2 separate regions of the Homo sapiens genome follow, and region 2 is linked to region 1. Evidence: promoter capture Hi-C in human tissues and cell types (Jung and others, 2019). All regions are on one chromosome and are shown on one strand. The core of a region is centred on a gene start or on the middle of the fragment in contact, and the rest is flanking DNA. Distances in the headings are between cores, read along the strand shown.

Evidence for each region. The method cuts DNA at HindIII sites, captures the fragments that hold promoters and counts their contacts. A contact is called where the count stands out against the background at its distance.
Region 2: a fragment that was not itself captured here is called in contact with the fragment with the promoter of KCNJ4 in region 1 in 3 of the 25 tissues and cell types used here (dorsolateral prefrontal cortex, heart left ventricle and lymphoblastoid cells).

The regions. Positions count from the first base shown.
Region 1 is chr22:38,452,907-38,457,495 of GRCh38, reverse strand. KCNJ4 (potassium inwardly rectifying channel subfamily J member 4) reads left to right here and starts at 2,297. Exons shown (of 2, transcript NM_152868.3): 1 at 2,297-2,516. LOC124905116 (a long non-coding RNA gene) reads left to right here. Exons shown (of 2, transcript XR_007068096.1): 2 at 1-174. RefSeq lists an enhancer at 4,401-4,589. The HindIII fragment of the contact is 19,664 bases long and covers 1-4,589 here.
Region 2 is chr22:38,170,911-38,175,499 of GRCh38, reverse strand. The region is part of intron 1 of PLA2G6 (phospholipase A2 group VI); the gene reads left to right. Among named protein-coding and RNA genes, the nearest start is that of PLA2G6, 8.6 kb to the left of the region's middle. RefSeq lists a cis regulatory region at 1,318 and an enhancer at 1,246-1,390. The HindIII fragment of the contact is 3,596 bases long and covers 197-3,792 here.

The DNA.
Region 1 (4,589 bases), core at 1,048-3,547:
GGAGGTCTGCACAGTCGGAGAGAGCCGTGAGAAAGGATGGCCACATTTATTGAGCGCCTACCATGATCTGTGTATTTCTTGTGCATCCACCTCACTTAATCTACCCCTTGGGAATGGAGGACGTTAGGGTCCTCAATTTACAGACAGATTAAATAAAAACTTGTTCAAGGTCAAGTAGCTCCTAGGTGCTTTTGAGCCTAGGTTAGCCTGACTCCTCATCCCACTAAGCAAGAACCATACTTGTGCCCCGCCCAGGGGCTGGTATGTGGTGGGTGCCTAGTGCTGGTTGAATGAATGAGTGGGTGATAAATGACTTCTGCTGGGGTCATCAGGAGGCCTTCTCAAGGAAGTGGCACTGAGGCTGGGCTTGGGGAACAGCAGGAATTCTCTGGGCAAAAAAGGTGGAAGGATATCTTAGTGAGGAGGAACAGTGCGTGCAGGCAGAGAGGTGTGGAGGCCTGTGGCGTGTTCTGGAATCTGTGGAATCAGGGTGTACCTGTGGATTTATGGGATGTGGGATGCCGGATAAGGTGGGGCCTGACTATACCACACTGAGGAGTTGGGACTGAATCCTTTTGAGTAGGGAGAGCCCACGAGGAAGGGAAACACTTGTGGTGGTTTGTGTGTTGCTGTTCTTATGCTGACATCCTCGAGGCTCAGGAGAGCCAGAGGGGATTTCAGATTTCATCAGTTCTCCACCTGGCTTTGGGGTGCCTCGGTCTCTCCCTCTCTGTAATGGGGCTAGTCGGTGATGGCCAGACTCCCAGGGAAGTTTTGCTGGCTGTCTAACTGCAGGTGTTCTCTCGTCCTACCACCCTGGAAGGAGGAGCACTTTCCCTCCTGTCTCCTCGGAGGGCTAGAGTGACGTGGCAGGATGGTCAGGATGTAGCTGGCTAGACAGGTGCTGTGGGTGCTGGGGGTTCCCTGACACCCCAGAGTGTGGGGCCCAGGCCTGACAGCTTGGGGTAATGGAGAGCGACAGAGAATAAGAGACTAGGGTTTGGCCTGGCTTTGTCATCTCTGGGTGACCTTGGCCGAGTTTCTGACCCTCTCTGGTACCCAGTCTCGCCATCTGTAAAATGGGGCAGTGGTGACTGAGTGATCGCGAGGGTCCCTCCAATAGGGCCCCCTCAGACTCCCAGAGTGAGGTGCTTCGGGTCCTTGACCGGCGGTACTTTGGGAGAGTACGAGGACCGCTAAGGAGAGGGGCGGACTCCGTGGGACCCCAGAGGGACCAGCTCCCACCCACCCCCCTTCCCGGCTCGGAGGAACCCTCTCCACCTGCCCCCTTTTGGGGGGGGGGCACAAAACCCGGGAGCGGATCCAGGAACGGGTTCTGGGAGGAGCGCTCCTGGGGCGAGGAGGAAAACCCGGGCAGGATCCAGGGCAGGAGCGGGGCCAGCAGCCCCCCGCCCCAGCCCCTGCTCCGCGCCGCGGGCCCCGCGGGAGGGGGCTTGAGGCCGGGTTAGGCCGAGGGGCGGGCAGGGCGGGGTCCCGCGGGCAGCCGGGGCTCCCGGGCTGGGGGGCGCGCGGCCTCCGCAGTGGGGCGCGGGTCACGTGTGAGGAGGGGCGAAAGTCTCGCAAAGCGGGGCGGCGTGCCGCGAGTTGGGAGTTCTCGGCGCGCCGCGGGCGGCGGGAGCTCGGGCTCCCGGGCGAGCCGGGGACGCGGCCAAGGCGGGGGCCGGGGTCCGAGACAGAGGGGGCCGCACGGAGAGTGGGAGGGGGAGAGACAGAGAAGGACAGGGGCCGCGAGGGAGACGGACAGAGACGCGCAGGGGAGAGAGGCAGCGCGGGCAGAGGGAGGCGGGGGGAGGCCGGCGGGCGACCGCGACGGAGACGGAGACCCCGCGGGCAGAGGGCGAGCGGGGCCGCAGGAGGCAGGGAGGCCGGGAGAGGGACCGGGACGCGAGCGCGGCGGAGACCCCGGCGGCAGGAGAGAGACGCGAGAGCGGTCGGGGAGGTGGCGACAGAGCCCGGCCGGCGGGGGCGGGGAGGGCGACCCCAGGCCGGGAGGCCGAGGGGTCGCGGGGCCGGGGCCGAGCGCAGCGGGGCCGGGAGTGGAGCGCAGGGCCGGGGGCAGAGCGCGCGAGCAGGAGCGGGTGACAGCGAGGGAGCTGGGCGCAGCGGGGGACGGCGGCGGGGAGGGCGCCTGCAGCGGGGGTGGGGGGCGCGGGCGGCGGGGCGCCCCGGGCCCCCGGACCCCCGCGCTGTGAGCCCGGCCGGGCCCGACGATGCTGACGCCGAGGCGGCGCCGAGGGCGCGGCGCGGGGCAGCGCTGAAAGTTGGGCGGCCCGCGGGGAGCGGCGCGGGACGGCCGGGACGCGCGGAGACCCCAAGACCCACGCGCAGACCGAGCGGCAGCCGGGGAGGGGAGCGCGGGCCGGCCGGCCGAGTTCGCGGGCAGGGGGCGCCGGGACTCCCCTTTCCGCGCCCGGGACGCCGCCCGCCGGATCGCGCCTTGGGATGTAGCGCCCGCTCGCCGCCTCCCGGACTCTCGTCGGACCCTCCGCCCAGCGGTAAGCCGCGCTCGCCCACCCCGGGCGCTGTCCGTCAGTTTGTCCCGCCGCGTGCGTGTCTGTGTGTCCCGGGCCCGCCGCTCCGGCCCCGCCCGCTCCGCACCTGATCCGGAGCCGGGTCCCGGCTGCCCGGCGCCGCGCGCGCGGTCCCGTGACTCCCCGGGAGCGGGCGGGCTCCACGGGCGGGCTCTGTCCGTCTGTCCGTCTGGGAGCGTCGCGGTCTGGGTTGTGGCCTGGAAAGGGGGAGAGAGGTGGGTGGAAGGGGTCTTGACCTCCTGCCCCAGCCATGACCTTTCCCTGCCTCCACCCACCCCAGTTGTCATGCCGGGGAGCTTCAAGGCAGGTGACTTGTGGCAAGGTGGGGGATGCCGCCTTTCCGCCTCCCCAGCTGCATCCTCGTTGCAAATGGCCCTGTGATCTGAAGAACGAAATCTCACTTCTCATGTTTTGAGCACCTACTTGGCGCCACACGACCCCAGGGCGCAGGGGCAGGGATTGGTAGAGGAGGCACTGCACGTTCACAGTGATAGACACAGGCTGGGGAGGGAGGCAGAGGCTGCTTTTTCCTCCGTGTGTAGGGAGCACCCCAAGGCAAGAGAGGTCTCAATGAGCCTCCCGCAGGGAGAACTTCCCCTGCAACCTGCCAAATGTCCCCCCACCAGTGTCAGCCTCCCTGCCCCCTACCCACATTTCTGCCCCCAGTGTCCCTGCTTCAGGATGGACAGGATGCAGGGAGTTGGGAGGTGGCAAGCTGGGTGGGGTGGAGCGGCGGGCTAGAGGCAGGGCAGCCTGGCCAGCTGACAGAGCAGGGCCTCAAGAGCAGTAGAATGTTCAGCAGCAGGTTTGGGGGAAGTGGGGAACTCAGGGAGGGAGGCCCAGAGAAGGGTTGGAGCCGTGTGTGTGTGTGTTCTCCCCCACATCCAGTCCCATGACCTCCATGGCTTCAGGCCTTTTGGGGGCAGTTAGCAGGACTTTAGGGGCCCAAGAGCCTCACTGTGGCCCTGGCTTGGCCTGTGCTGAGGGGAGCAAAAGGTGGACCAGGGCAGCTGGGGTAAGAGATGGGTGCAGCATGGTGGGAACAGAGACTGTTGGCCACTGAACTGACCCATATCCCAACTGGAGTTGGAAGGGCTGAGCCTAGAACATTCCACTCCATTCTCACTGGGAGGAGGGACTCTTTCTGGGGTGTTCCACACTGGGCAGTGGGTCTCATATGTCCTCCATTCAGCCTCCCAGAAATTAGCTCAGGTGGCTGGGAGAGCAGCCCCCTGGGCTGGTCACTCTCCTCCCAACCGTCATCTTCCACATCTGTGGCATGGGGACGTCACTCCCTGCCCCAGTGACCTCCAAGGCGGGCCCTGGGCTCAATGAGCAGTGGGCTGTTCACAGGCTGGGGAAAGCACTGGGGAGATGGGAGTAAAGACTCACTTTACCTTAAGAGAGATGAACAGCTAGTGGGTGGAGGTGGGCGTGGGGCAGTGGGAATATGGCGGAAATAGCTGACGAAGGAGGAGTGTCCAGGATTAGAGGGGGAATCTGGGGTACAATTCCTCATGGCCCTTTGGGTTATCCTTGAAAAGAAAGCTCTTCTCTCAGAAAATCCTCTGGAGTGGCTGTGACCAGGCAGAGCTGGTTGAGTTTCTGCTGGGTGACCTTGGGTGGGTGGCTTGACCTCTCTGAACCTCAGTTTCTTCAACTGGAGAATAGGTATGATGATACTGACTTCATCAGGGTGTTGAGCAGTTTCCAGACTGTGTCAGGTCTGTGAAAGCCGCGTGCGCCAGCCTGGAGCATAGTAGGTTCGTAGACATTTGCGAAAGAGAGAATGAAGTAGCTCTGGGAGATGCTGTGAGAAGATGTCTTAGCTTAGGATAAGAAGGAAGGGGAGGAGGAACAGTGTAGGCTTACAGGGCGGGCTGGTTCTTAATGTGGATCTGGGGGAGGCGGGGGCGAGTGCTAAGGGGGGTGTGAGGAGGAGGGGGCCCCTCTGCGGGGACCACTGAGTCACGAGGACATGTAAGCGACATGACAACCGGCAACATGGTAACCAGGAAACTAGCGGCGGTGGGAAAC
Region 2 (4,589 bases), core at 745-3,244, 280 kb after region 1:
TGGGAAGATCGATGGTGCGGCGTGGCTGGAGTAGAGGTGAGGGATGAGTTGGAGGGGTGAGTTGGGCCAGCTCTCATGGATGCTGGAGTCTGGGCTTTCCCTGGGAGGTCATGGGGCGCCACTGGCCAGGGTCAGCAGGGAGACCTGCAGCTGGATTTGCATCGTACAGTGGGCATGGAGGGGTGTCAGGCTGGGTTGGGAACCGTGCAGGCTGGAAGGGCACTCTGGTGCTCTGAGCATTCAGAGGGGGCAGCTGGGCCTTGAAGGATGAGCAGGGGCTCCAGCAGGAACTGGAGAGCGCATTCCAGGGAGGACGCAAGTGCAGGCCCCTTTCACTACAGAAAAGCAGTTTTCACACAGACCTTCCAAAGGGGAGGAGAGGGGACTGCCTGGGCCTGGCAGCTGCGGCAGGTAGCAGCAATCAGAGGGCAGGGACCGCTCCTCCCGTGCCTGAGACCTGCCCAGGGTCCTTCAGGGAATTCGTAGCTGAGGAGGAACCAGATTTTTGGGACTGAGTTCTCCCTCACCACCCGCTCTGAGCCACCCTCTTGGTCCCTTGTCCTCTACTGCACTTCTTCCGGGGCTTGGCTCCTCGTCATGAGAGGAGCTTCCCTGGGCATGGCGAGGGGCGTGACTGACATAGCAGCCCTGGACAAGTGGCTCCAGGTGACCTGTGTTCACGTTGATCACAGCACTAACCACGGCCCCTCCTCTCAGCACCTTCCCCTCTCGAGCCGTCCAGTCCCAGTGAAAATGCTCACCGTTCATGGGTGGGCTGAGCAAGCCCCTGATCTCTGCCTTCCTCCGTGTTCTGATCTGCTTCATCTGCTGTGAAGGCCTCTCGCCATTTCCCCCGCTGGCAAACTCCTGTTCTTCCTGGAAAGTTCAGCTAAAAAGTCATCCCCTTTAGGGGTCCTTCCCTCAGGGGACCGTGCACTTGGCGAGACAGGGACTGGTCTTGGGTCTCTCTGTTGACTGTTTTATGAACCCAGGTAGTCACTTCCAGGGAACTCATCAGAGATGCTACCATTGGCTCCAATCTCCCTCTGTTCCCACTCGAGGTTTTTTGTTTCTTCGTTTGTTTTTCTTTCTTTCTTTTTTTTTGAGACAGAGTCTCGCTCTCGCCCAGGCTGGAGTGCAGTGACATGATCTCGGCTCACTGCAAGCTCCGCCTCCCGGGTTCACGCCATTCTCCTGCCTCAGCCTCCCGAATAGCTGGGACTACAGGCACCCGCCACCACGCCCAGCTAATTTTTTTTGTATTTTTAGTAGAGACGGGGTTTCACCATGTTAGCCAGGATGGTCTCAATCTCCTGATTTCGTGATCCGCCCGCCTTAACCTCCCAAAGTGCTGGGATTACAGGCGTGAGCCACTGCGCCCAGCCCGTTTGTTTTTGTTTTTTGGTGGACATCAACTTTAATTTGCCCTTTGTTTTGTTTTGTTTTTGAGGCAGGGTCTTGCTCTGTCTCCCAGGCTGGAGTGCAGTAGTGCAATCTTGGCTCACTGCAGTCTCGACCTCAAGAGGATCAAGCAATCCTCTTGCCTTAGCCTCCCGAGTAGCTGGGACCACAGGCGCACACCACCATGCCCAGCTAATTTTATTTTATATTTTGTAGAGACAGGGTTTTGCCATGTTCCCCAGGCTGGTCTCAAATTCCTGGGCTCAAGCAATCCGTCTGCCTCAGCCTCCCAAAATGCTGGAATTACAGGCACGAGCCACTGTGCCCGGCCTTAATTTGCCCTTTGAACATGTACAATTCAGGGCCTCTCTGGGCCTCAGTTTCTTGATCTCTGAGATGGGAAGATGGGATAATAATACTTGTTCCTCCCGTCCTTCAGCTCCTCCAGGGGACCCTCACACCAGCACACTCTCTGTCAGTCTTCCCTCAATGAACCCAGCAGGCAAGCTTGGTTTTGACAGAGGATGGGTGAGCAGAGATAAGGAAAACGGCCAGAAATATCTGGCTTCCCTCAGCAGGGGCACCAAAATTGGTACCTGGAAATTGCCTGGCTTGGACAGGCAGAATTGTCACTGTCAACCCCCACCACCAAAGGTCTTGGGTCTTTGTCTTTCTGCTTGTGGTGTTTGAGAGAGCTGCTTGACACAGCCGAGGTGCGGTCTGTGTCAGGTGACCTGGGCATCCTGGGGGTGCAGGGAGAAGCCCAGGTAAGGAGGAGGAGGGGCCGGTCATCAGTGGGGAAAAGTGATTGTCTACCCCACGGGAAGGTCAAGGGTAGGACGCTGTGAGAAGCCAGGGGGAGAGATGAAGTGAGGCATGATGCGGGGGGCCCTCATCCACCATCCCCCTCTTGCAGCTGTGCTGGGAAGAGCCTAGGCTCCAGGGTCCAAGGTGGCAGGGACAGAAGGAAGCACGTGTGAGCACTTTCTCCCTGCTGGCCCGCCTTCCTGGTTGGCAATGCCGTGAGTGTTCCAGGATGTGGCCCCGTGGCTGTCATTTCCTTTCTTCCACCTAGTGATAACAATGGCCACTGTTTGTGTGCCCACAGTCGGCCTGTGTCCCAGACACCTTCCCTCCATTGCGTCATCTCGTCCTCCTGCCTACCCTGAAGGCTGGATGCCAGCCAAGCCTGTCGTTTCTGTGGCCATGCTGTCGTGGGTGTGTGGGGGGCATCCCCTAGCCCCAGGCTCTGGTGGGGGGTACACAGGCTGGGCCATTGACGAAGGGGTGTGTGGAATCTTTCTTTGATTTCACTGCACCCCTGGTGACTTTCTCCCTCAATCTGAGGCTCATGGGTGCTGGATGCTCTTGACTCTCTGCCCTTCCTGGGCGCACCCCTCCGCGTCCCTGTGGGCCCGTCCTCGGGGTAGCCTCTCTGCGCTCTTCCAGGCCAGGCCTGAGTCCCACAGGTCCCCATCTTCCCGGCTGCAGCCCCCAGAGGCTCAGCCTATACTGCTACTTCCTTTGAAAACTATAATCGCTTTACATAGCATCTGGAAAATAGGGAAAAGGAAAAAACAAAAGCCCATAAACCCAGCACCCTCATCTACTCAATGGCATGTTTTCTGTCAGTCTATCTTGGTTTGTTTTCTATCAGGCTTTGTTTTTTCTATGCATAATATTTACTCAGTTAAATTTTTGTTTTGACAAACTTTCTGTGAGCCAAGCTTGTGGACGGAGATGAAAAGACGAGCAGCTGCCTTTGAGAAACTCAGACTCTGGGCCAGCCCATCTGGGTGCCAGCTTTCACTGCTCCACCCACTAGCTGGGTGACCCTGGGCCCGTGACTTTACCCCTCTGTTCTTTGGTGTTCTCATATGTAAAATGAGGATAATAATAGTAACCAGTTCATAGAGTGGTTGTCAGACAGAATGATTAATGTACGTAAAGCTTTCAGGATGGTGCCAGCAAGATGCACAGGAGTGTTTGGTAGGAGGATGACGAAGCTTACCGTCTGGCAGGAGGGGCAGTTGTAACATGCTGGGCTGTGATAGTACAGATGTGTTTAAAGTGAGGGAGAGCCCAGAGCAAGGAGAGAGAACCTGGCATCTGGTGATGGTGTATCAAGAACATTTTAGGCCAGACACGGTGACTCACACCTGTAATCCCAGCACTTTGAGAGGCTGAGGCAGGCAGATCGCTTGAACCCGGGCGTTCGAGACCAGCCTGAGCAACGTGGTAAGACCCTGTCTTTATAATTTTTTTTTTTTTTTTTCTGAGACGGAGTCTTCACTCTGTCACCTAGGCTGGAGTGCGGTGGTGCTATCTTGGCTCACTGCAACCTCCACCTCCCGGGCTCAAGTGATTCTCCTGCCTCAGTCTCCCAAGTAGCTGGGATTATAGGTGCCCACCACCATGCCCAGCTAATTTTTTTATATTTTTAGTAGAGACGGAGTTTCACCATGTTGGTCAGGCTGGTCTCAAATTCCTGACCTCAAGTGATCTGCCCTCCTCAGCCTCCCAGAGTGCTGGGATTACGGGCATGAGCCACCATGCCTGGCCTCTATAAAAATTGTTTGGAAGAAATTACCTAGGCCTGGTGATACACACCTGTAGTCCTAGCTACTCAGGAGGCTGAGGTGGAAGGAGGTAGAGGCTGCAGTGAGCCATGATTGAGCCACTGTACTCCAGCCTGGGCAACAGAGCCAGACCCTGTTTCAAAACAACAACAACAAAAACATTTTTAAGGAGGAGGCTGAGAACCACGAGAACCAAGCTTGGATTTGAAGAAGGATCAGGGCTTTCTCAGACAGAAAAGGAGAGGAAGAACATTCCAGATAGACATCATTGAGAGATGGCACTGAGCCTTGTAATGGGACACTGCGAACTTTTCTTCAGTTGTTATGATCTTTTTTTTTTTTTTTTTGAGACGGAGTTTCGCTCTTGTTGCCCAGGCTGGAGTGCAATGGCGCCATCTCAGCTCACCGCAACCTCCGCCTCCCAGGTTCAAGCGATTCTTCTGCCTCAGCCTCCCAAGTAGCTGGGATTACAGGCATGCGCCACCATGCCTGGCTAATTTTTTGTATTTTTAGTAGAGACGGGGTTTCTCCATGTTGGTCAGGCTGGTCTCAAACTCCTGACCTCAGGTGATCCGCCCGAGTCGGCCTCCCAAAGTGCTGGGATTACAG